3 separate regions of the Homo sapiens genome follow, and all the other regions are linked to region 2. The links are contacts of gene promoters, found by promoter capture Hi-C in human tissues and cell types (Jung and others, 2019). All regions are on one chromosome and are shown on one strand. The core of a region is centred on a gene start or on the middle of the fragment in contact, and the rest is flanking DNA. Distances in the headings are between cores, read along the strand shown. Region 1 has its middle 11 kb from the start of ZDHHC13. Region 2 holds the start of MRGPRX2 (MAS related GPR family member X2). Region 3 overlaps ZDHHC13 (zDHHC palmitoyltransferase 13).

Evidence for each region. The method cuts DNA at HindIII sites, captures the fragments that hold promoters and counts their contacts. A contact is called where the count stands out against the background at its distance.
Region 1: a contact is called between a fragment that was not itself captured here and the fragment with the promoter of MRGPRX2 in region 2, in 1 of the 25 tissues and cell types used here (neural progenitor cells).
Region 3: a fragment that was not itself captured here is called in contact with the fragment with the promoter of MRGPRX2 in region 2 in 1 of the 25 tissues and cell types used here (psoas muscle).

What each region holds. Positions count from the first base shown.
Region 1 is chr11:19,104,581-19,107,976 of GRCh38, forward strand. No RefSeq gene overlaps it. Among named protein-coding and RNA genes, the nearest start is that of ZDHHC13, 11 kb to the right of the region's middle. The HindIII fragment of the contact is 5,134 bases long and covers 1-3,396 here.
Region 2 is chr11:19,059,165-19,062,278 of GRCh38, forward strand. It overlaps MRGPRX2 (MAS related GPR family member X2), which reads right to left and starts at 1,553. Exons shown (of 2, transcript NM_054030.4): 1 at 1,455-1,553. The HindIII fragment of the contact is 5,022 bases long and covers 1-1,785 here.
Region 3 is chr11:19,122,573-19,125,812 of GRCh38, forward strand. The region is part of intron 1 of ZDHHC13 (zDHHC palmitoyltransferase 13); the gene reads left to right. Among named protein-coding and RNA genes, the nearest start is that of ZDHHC13, 7.0 kb to the left of the region's middle. The HindIII fragment of the contact is 5,447 bases long and covers 1-3,240 here.

The DNA.
Region 1 (3,396 bases), core at 874-3,373, 46 kb after region 2:
ACAAAGAAGGAAGTCATGACTTCTTGGAGAGATCAGGGAAGCTTCCAGAGGAAGTGCTATTTGCCAGGGCAGGATGTGGGGGTGTAAGTGGGAGAACTGGATCGAGTAGAACTAGTTACTACCCTGGCTAGCTCTCTGGTATACCCAGGAGGTAAAGTTCAAAGAAGGTGGCCACTTTTTTTTAAGGTCACATGATGAGTTAGCCAACCTGGAAACGAAATCCACAGTGCTAATTCCTTAAGCCAAGCCCTGTAACTCTCAAGTTTTCTAATTAAAGAAATTCCTTCTAATTTGTCAGTGGATGATGAAGAAATCATACTTTATTCCTGTTATTCCTTCCAGGAGTATCTCTGACCCCCTGGAATTAAAATACCATAGCCTTGAAAAAACAGAAAAAAGAAATTCCCGATAGTCAAAGTATGTGTATAACCTGCCCAGGGACTGACTGGTACAGATGCATGAAGCTCACCTCCTTTGCCTCAAGAAATGGCAAACTCTATGGTGCAGTTTACAATCCAGAGCTTCCAGTGGCATCAGACTGAGAGGATTTGGCCTGAAATCACATCCCTTTTTTTTGGTTTTTCCCCCTTCCCTGTATTAGTCATGATTCTACAGAAAAACAGAACCAACAGGAAAGATAACAGATTTATTTTCAGAAATTTGTTCATGCAATTGTCAGGACTGGCAAGTCTGAAAGCCATAGGGTAAGTCAGTGGGCTGGAGGCTGAATGTTCGGGTAAGAGTTGATGTTGCAGTCTTGAATATGAATGCTGGAATTTCTATGGTGCCCTCTGAAGGCAGAATTCATTTTTCTCTGGGAAACCTCAGCCTTTGCTGTTAAGGCGGTTGGCTGATTGGATGAGGCCCATCCACACCATATAAAGTAATCTGCTTCACTTTAAGTCGACTGGTTTTAAACATTGACTAAGTCTCAACTAGTGTTTGACCAGGCAGCTGGTCACCATAATGTAGCCAAAGTGACATAAAATTAACCATCCCATTTCCTCACTTCCTAGCAGGTGTTCCTGAGAGCACTTCCTTAATAAGGCGTTTGCATAATAATCCTCATCTGGTGCTCAGCTTCTAGGGAGTCTGCACTGAGACAAATGGTGCTTGGTATCCTTGTTTGTACCTTGCTTGCCTATAGGCTTGCTTTTGTATTATCTCTCATTCTCTCCAGAAGCAAGCCATTGGGGAGTGGATTTTTGTCTGTCTTGCTTACTACTATTCCTCCAGTCCCTAGAATGAGACCTAGCACATTGCACACGGGCTGTCTTTTGCCTGATTGCTCTCAAATTTCATTTCCACTGCTTTGTTCTGCTATGGGTTTTAAGGAGGCTTGGACACTGGAATTACATTCCCTGGATTCTCTTGCCAATCGGCTTTCAGATAGAAAGCCAGTGAGGCCTTCTATAAGCCTAATAAGGCACTGGTGGGAAATTGGAAGACAAGAGGAAGAGAGAAGAGGCTCTTTTCCTGCTTCAGACTTCTGTTAGCAACCTTCCAACAGGCACGGAGAACAACGGGTGTTTTGGGCACTTCTAGCACCCACTAATGGAGCTACTTCCTCAGAGCCTAAGCAGCTCTCCAATCAGCGTGCACAGTGCCCACCATGGTCTTGGCACCAGCCACCTGTGGTCAAAGCACCAGCCCAGGCCTCCCCATCTCCTGGGTTCTAGATCTGGTAACAACACCTCTACTCTTTTGTTCCCACAACCTTAGGAATGGAAGCTTCTTTTGGCAGTTACTAAGCTCTGAGTCCATTTAAAATCGCTCTTTGCTCTCTCAACCCTTCCAACACTGTGTAAGCACTTTCTTATGTTAAATTCCCGCATTTAAAATATCTAGAGAGATATGTGTTCTCATGACTGGACCCTGTGAACCCTGGCTGATATTTAGGCTCTCAATAAATACTTGTTGAATACGCAGAATTTAGCCCCAAGTTTATATTCTTAGAATTCATAGTTCAAAAGAAAGAAACTTGGCTTTTACAGCATCAATAGATCAAATTATATGAAAGTACTCTTATTGGCCCTGTTTTGGGCACATGCTCCCCCCCACCTCACCCCGACAATCCCCCTGGGCAAAATGATGGTGTACCTTGATTGGTCAGGCCTGGCTCAGGGACTCAGCCCTATGGCTCATAGCAGGCAGGATACTGAAATTGACAATCCCACCTAAACCACTTAGGGTAAGGGAGAGGCACTTCCCCAGTGGAAGATGGGCAGACAAAAAAGAAATTTTCCTACCACAATGAACTTATAGTCTTGGGGGATATGATTTAAAAATTGTCCTAATATAATGTGGTAAAGCACCAGGTGTTCTGGGAGCAGGGGGGAGCATTTATTCTACAAAGTCCTTTCATATACATGAAACAATTTGTTCCTCACAATGCCAACCACTATGAAGTTGGCATCCTCATCCTCACTATATAGAATCTTTGGCCTCCTATGATCTGTCTCTTCTCTTTTTGACTTCAAGTCCCTCTTTGTCAAGCTCCCTTAGCCAGGCCACCCCACCCTCAGCTTTCTTTTCATTCCCAGATATCTCAACCTCATTCCTTTTTTTAATGTAGAATTCTTCTGACTTGATGGCAAATAAGTTGTCCTTGGTCCCATAACAATATTGGCACCTATCACTATACAAAACACCCACCCTAAGGCAAACACCATACCATATGCTTTACACACATTCTCTCATTTAGTCTTCTTAACAGCCTTACAAAATAGTAGTAGAATTGCAGAAAGATTGTGTGACTTAGCCAAGGCTACTTGGCAAGAGCTGGGATATAAAGCTAGCTCTGTCTGGCTCCCACAACAGCAGCATCTCCTCCACTTGGTTTCCACACCAACTGAGGGATGGTTGAAAGAGCTGGGGATGTTTAATCAGGGGGACAACACACTTAGGGGTACCATTATCCATTCAAGTATCTAATGGGCGGTGAAGTAGAAGAGAGAATTCACTGGAATTTTTGTGGCGCCATAACCAAGGAAAAAGGACCGATTATAAACATAAAAGTGAGGGATAGTTGGCCGGGCGCGGTGCCTCACGCCTGTAATCCCAGCACTTTGGGAGGCCGAGGCAGGCGGATCACGAGATCAGGAGATCGAGACCATCCTGGCTAACACGGTGAAATGCCGTCTCTACTAAAAATACAAAAAAATTTAGCCGGGGGTGGTGGCGGGCGCCTGTAGTCCCAGCTACTTGGGAGGCTGAGGCAGGAGAATGGCGTGAACCCGGGAGGCGGAGCTTGCAGTGAGCTGAAATCGCACCACTGTACTCCAGCCTGGGAGACAGCGAGACTCCGTCTCAAAAAAAAAAAAAAAAAAAAAAGTGAGGGATACTTCTGTCCAATGTAACCAGTATGATAGAAGGTAGTGAGTATCCCACCACTGT
Region 2 (3,114 bases), core at 303-2,802:
TATGCTAATGGCACCATGTAACCATATGTGATGGTCAAGGGGAGGTGAGAGAAAGTGATATAACCAGCTACTCCTGTACTCTTTCTTTTTTTCTCTTCTCTCTGGCTGGAATGCTGATGTGTTTGGGAGCCATGTAGGACCATGAGGGTAAGGGTACCGCTTTAGGGATGGGGAAATAGAAATTGGAAGGAGCCTTGATGTTTGATGTCTTAGAGTTATCAGCCCAAGTCTAGTAAACATTCTTTTTGATTATCACTATAATAGGTTTCTTTTTAGAGAAGCCAAAATCATAAACTTACATTACACATACCTGTGTACTTATAGCTGGGAGTACCTATGTACTCCCAATCCCTTTTTTTCCCAACCACATTCCATTCTCAAGGCATTTATGATGATAGTGAGAGACTAGTCCAAAGAAGTGACACTAGATGGGAAGGTCAAACAATTAAAAAAAAGGGAGGTGATAGAATGAGAAATTGATTCAATCACATTAATAGAGAAAGTCTCAGGAAAGACAAACTGAGAAGAGGCTATGGGAAGAAATGGACTTTCCTATTTGCTATTAGGATCTCATGTCCATCCTTCTCTACCTGCCTTTGCATCCTGGGAGGAGACATGTCTGTGCCTCGTCAATGGGCTGTCTTTCACTCAGGCTCCAAAGGGTACACATTGACAGGAGATTGGAGGGTGACTTTTTTTTTCAGCCAAAGGGACACATTGACAGTAGATTGGGGGATGATTTTTTAAAAATTTCCTGGCTCTCTCCCTGCGCCCTGAAGGGCTGTGAGTTGGCAGTGGCAGTGTTTTTCTACCTAAGGACATAGCCCTGCCTGGTGGCCCTTTCCTGTAGCCACAGCTATAGTTACAGTTACAGTTACCGCTACAGCACATTCTGAGTTCTCAGAACTTCTCTTTCTCCTTATCACTTCAGACCTAGCAACGGTAACAGCCCTCCACTATCACTTGCCTTTGAGGGCTTCATCATTCCTTAATCCCTGTTCACGCCGTTGTAAACAGTCTCTTCACTAAACTCCTCTAAACTACCCCTTTAGAGTGTGTGATGTGTGTTTTCTGCTGGGACAATGACAGATATGAAGGAAAAACCTTTTGAATAACAAGAAAATCAGTGCAACCTGAGGTTTTAAATAACAATTTAGCTTAGGGAAGTAATGACTTCATTCTAGCCTGCCCCTAAATTAAAATCAGCAAAATCTTTCTCTCCATAGTTTCAGATTTGAATGGTCGAAGAGAAGGGGAGAATATTGGTAGATAGAAGAGAAGTGGGACGAACCTGCTTGACCCCATTCGGATCTCCCAGCATCTAAGCTGCCAGCATCCAAAGCTTCCTCAAAGGAGCTTCCTGTCTTCTTTTCCTAATGAATTCATCAGGATGTGGACTAAGGTAAAAACCAAAACTGCCTTTGAAAGAAGATGGTTCTTGAACAAACTCTTACCTTAACACCCTTCTTTCTACTGGAGTTGGTGAGTTGAGAAGTGCTTTCCTGGGACTGGCAAACAGCTGAGGATGGGGAGATGCCTGCAGGATCTGGAGTGAAACCTGATGACTGAGTGAAGCTTATCAAGATGCTCAACAACCCTGTGATTTCCTGTACAGAGGGTGCTGGAAAATAAGAGTATGACACAGGAAACCACATGAGATGTTTCTCAGCATTTGCCCTGACTCCAATCACTTATCTTGGTTTCTCCCCTACCCTCTCCGGCCCCACTCCCTGCAAGGAATCACCGTCCTGAAGTCTTTCATTGCCCACAATGAGCATCCAGGAAGCAGACCAATCAAGCGACGTGAGCTTTCATAGCTAAAGAATAGTCTGCCCTCTTCTGCTTGGCATTCAAGGCCCTGGCTTACTTGACCTTTCAAAATCAGGTTTATTTCAAATGACACTAAGGTGTATAAAATGAAATGCAAAGTCTCTCGAAGTCTCATTCCCCAAAAGCAACCACTGCATACAGTTTCCATTCTTTTTTTTAAAAAAGCTTTGCGTAATAAAACAACATTTCTATTTTTGATTTATCGATGTTAACAACTAGATATATTGAGTCTCCTTATAAAATATAGGGGACTTAGCACATCACATGCACCATCTGTCACGTTTCTCCCTCTACATCATGATATTTATTAGCTAGATTATTTTTAGATCATCTAGAGCCAACCAATATTTTCAGCCTTATCTCCTATGACTTCCTTTCATGTGCCTATGCTGCAGCCAAATTGAGTTATAAGTAACAATTATGAAGCATTTAAGACAATCAGAAGAAATTATTCACTCATTTATTCATTCATTCAACACTGTTTATTGTTTGCCTATGATATGTCAGGTACCGTTCCAGGCAATGAAGACACAATGATGAACACCATACAAGATCATGCCCCTTTGCATTCCAGAGCAGCTGGGTGACCTCAGACAGGGAACATGTGTTGATTGAGGCGAGTTCTGAGACTCAGCATTTTCTTGTATTATACTTTGGTGCAGTGGGTAAACCATGCATTTGTCCCCAGAAATCTGCTTTCCTCATGAGCAGCAGCAGGACCTTAGAAAGCTTTAACTTCTGTTACTGTCTAACCTACTGTGCTCTATTATTTGATTTTGATTCTGTTTCCCTCCAACAAATGAAACACTTATTATTGTTTTAAATAGTCAGTGTTTATTCAGATTTATCCACATAATCACCAATGCTTTTGCTCATCCTCCCATTTTACATCTCATATCTTCCATTTCTCAAAACACATTCTTCAGGAGTTCCTTCTGTGAGAGTCTCTGCATGGTAAATGCCTCCTTTTATCTATCTGAAAATGTCATTGTTTCACCCTCGTCTTCTAAAGATGGTTTTTCCAGGCATGGCATTGTAGGGTGATAGTTTCTTTCTTCCAGCACATTGAAGATCCATGTTCTGACTGCCAGGGTTACTGTTGCGGCCATCAGTCAGGTTGCCATTTGCTTGTGGTGATCTGCCTTTTTTTCCTCTAAGAGCTTTTATTTTTCTCTGCTATGATACATTCTCACCAAATTGTATCTGGTGACTCTTTTTCAAATCATGTTTGGGATTTGTGGAGTTTCCTAGATTTTAAAATTATCATCATTTAACATTTTTAAA
Region 3 (3,240 bases), core at 221-2,720, 63 kb after region 2:
TGTTTGTGGAAGCTTTCTCTGCCCTTAGGTTACCTTGTAAACAGAGTATAAGGAGTGACCTGCTTGGCATATCAATAAATGAGACTGCCATCGTTAAAAATTAGTAAAGCTTTCCTGCCAGCAGAGGTGTGCTAAAAAGAAAAAATAAATTTGGTAAAGCTTTAAAAACTCAAATTTGTAAATTTTATTTTTCCTTTTTAAGTAAAAAGATAAAAAATTATTATAATAGAAGCTTTAACATTTTCTCACATTACCTAGTGGGTCACTGCATATATGGCTTTGAGTGTACTTTCCTCACTTTGTAGATGATTGACTTCAAACACAAGCTTTGAATATAGTCATTTTTAGGTTTTACTTTGATCTGCATGCGGGTAAACAATGATGACATGAACGGAAGATATCTTCTGTTTTCTAGTTTCTTAAAGTTGCCATTTAATCATATATAATCACATATTGCCTGCTATTATTATTTCACTCTGTCTCTGACATATCTCCCTTATTAGACTTAAATTCCTGGAGGATAGACACCCATGTCTTATATGCCCTTAGCGTAATTGTACATCATAAATACACAGTAATTAATTGCCGACTAAACAAATATTCTCAATTGTGGATATTCTTCACATTAAAACATGTAAACCTCCTCAACTTTATACATGAAAAATAAAGCTGATGTCCTTAATGCCTTAAAATAGTATAAGAAGCAACAAATTTGTATCTAGAATGAGTCAGTTTTCTGTGATGAAAAATCTGTGTATAAACAAAGGGTCAGGGTGGGGTGTGGTGGCTCATGCCTGTAACCCTAGTGCTTTGGGAGGCCAAGACGGAAGGATAACTTGAGGTCAGGAGTTTAAGACCAGTCTGGGCAACATAACGAGACCAGTCTGGGCAACATAACGAGACCTATCTACAGAAGAATAAAAAAATCAGCAGGGTGTGGTAGTGCTTGCTTATAGTCCTACCTACTACGGTGGGTCAGGTGGTAGAATCACTTGAGCCCAGCAGATAGGGCTGTAGTGAGATTTGATGGTGCCACTGCACTCCAGCCTGGGTGACGGAGTAATACCCCATCTCAAAAACAAAACAAAAAAGGCTTAATCTTTCTAACCTACAAAGAGAAACAGATATGTGCAATTCATTAGAAAAACAAGTAGACTATGAAAAGGCAATCCACAAAAGAGAAAATATGGAGAGCCAGTATACCTAACAACAACAACAACAACAAACAAAACACTCAGACTCATTAGCAACTAGGGGAGTACAGGTGAAAGATAGGATGCCATTTTTAGCCATCAAAGTGTCAAGGTTGTAAAAAGATTGATAATATTCAGTTCTGGGAAGGTTTGTAGGGAGAAAGAACACGTATATACTTTGCTATTGGGACTGTGAATTGGGGAGAGTATTTGGTCAGAATCTATTTATGTTTAAAATGCACGTTTTTTGACTCAACAGTCCTACTTTGAGGAATCAATCCTATAGAATTAGAATGCCCAGGGTGTTGATTGTGTATAGATATGAAAGGCTGAAATCAACCTGTGTCTCTAACCAAAGGGGAGTGTTGAATGAATTATACTAGATCTATATACAATGGAACAATAGTGAAATATTACTGAACTGCAGGACTGTACATGATATATTGTTACATGAGAAAAGCAAGTTGAAGAATAATGTATATAATGTGATACTATTCTTTGTTCAATAAGTATAAGAAGAAAATGATTAAAAATGTGGATGTATGTATGTATATAGCACAATATTATATATGTTAAAATATATATACATAATGAGGGAAGATGCACCCAATTGTTAATAATGGTTATCTCTGGTGGTACAGTATTGAAGAGGAAAGAGTCCGGATTGTTAACCCTGTATTCACTTCTGTATTGCTAGATCTTTAAAATTAATATGTTATCATTTTATGGTTTTAAAATTCTAGTAAAAATTTTTTATATAAAAATACACTGATTTTTTTTGTCAATCTTAGCTGCACTTTTTGTTATACCTGTTACTTATTGAGATTCTAGAAATTTTTAGTATAGTTCAACTCTTTTCCTCAACCCTTTGCCTTCTTCCAATTGAATATAATTACTGTGATATCAGGAAAAGCATCCTAAAGTAATGTTTTTATTTACATTTTAATCTAACTACCTACATGTTTATTTTTAGCTGTGTGTGATTCTGCGTGTGTGTGGGGGGGTACTGATTATTTACCAGATAAATCAGAATTTACCTATTCAGAAAAGCAGGTGGACTGAAGAAGAAAAAGACCGGAATTCAAAAACCACCAAATCAGTAGCTGATTTACCTTTTTTCTCTCTGATTTGCCCCCAGCCTTGACTTGAGCCCTGGAAATAAGCATCAGTGCAGACGAGTGCTCTATGAGAAGCTATCTAGTTAAAGCTCAAGGAGCCACAAAGGGATTTCCTGGCAGCACAGTCACCAGAAACACTGAGGGAGAACTCTCTGAACAGAGGAATTGTGACCCCAAGACAGTAGTTTTTAGACGTGACACCAAAAGCACAATCCATAAAAGAACAAATTGATAAATTGGACTTTTTTAAAATTTAAAACTTCTGCTCTATGAAACAGACTTTTAAGAGATGGGAAGGTAAGGTACAGACCAGGAGAAAATATCTGCAAATCACATATCTGACAAAAGACTTGTATCTAGAATATATAATATAAAGAACTCTCAAAACTTAACAGTAAGAAAACAAACAGCTCAATTAAAAAATGGACAAAAGACTTGAACAGACACTTCACCAGAGAAGATATACAGGTGGCAAATAAGCATGTGAAAAGATGCTCAACTTCATTAGCCGTTAAGGATATGCAAATTAAGACCATGATGAGATGCCCCTATACATCTATTAGACTGACAATCCCAAGTGCTGGTGAGAATGCAGAACAATTGTAACTCTCATAGTTGTTAGTGGCAATGCAAGGTGATATAGCCAGTCTGGAAAATAGTTTAGCAGTTTCTCATAAATTTAAATATACCTAACATATGGCCAAGCAGTCTTATTCTTAGAGAAATGAAAGGATGTTCACACAAAAGTTTGTCCACGAATATTTTTAGCAGCTCTGTTTATGATTGCCAAAAGCTGGAAAACAACCCACGCAGACTGTTTGGATAGATTATCTGTGACGCACCCATATAGTGGGATACTACACAGCAGTAAAAAAGAAGGAATTATTGATAACATACAACAACTTGGTTAAATCTCAGCACCATTGTGC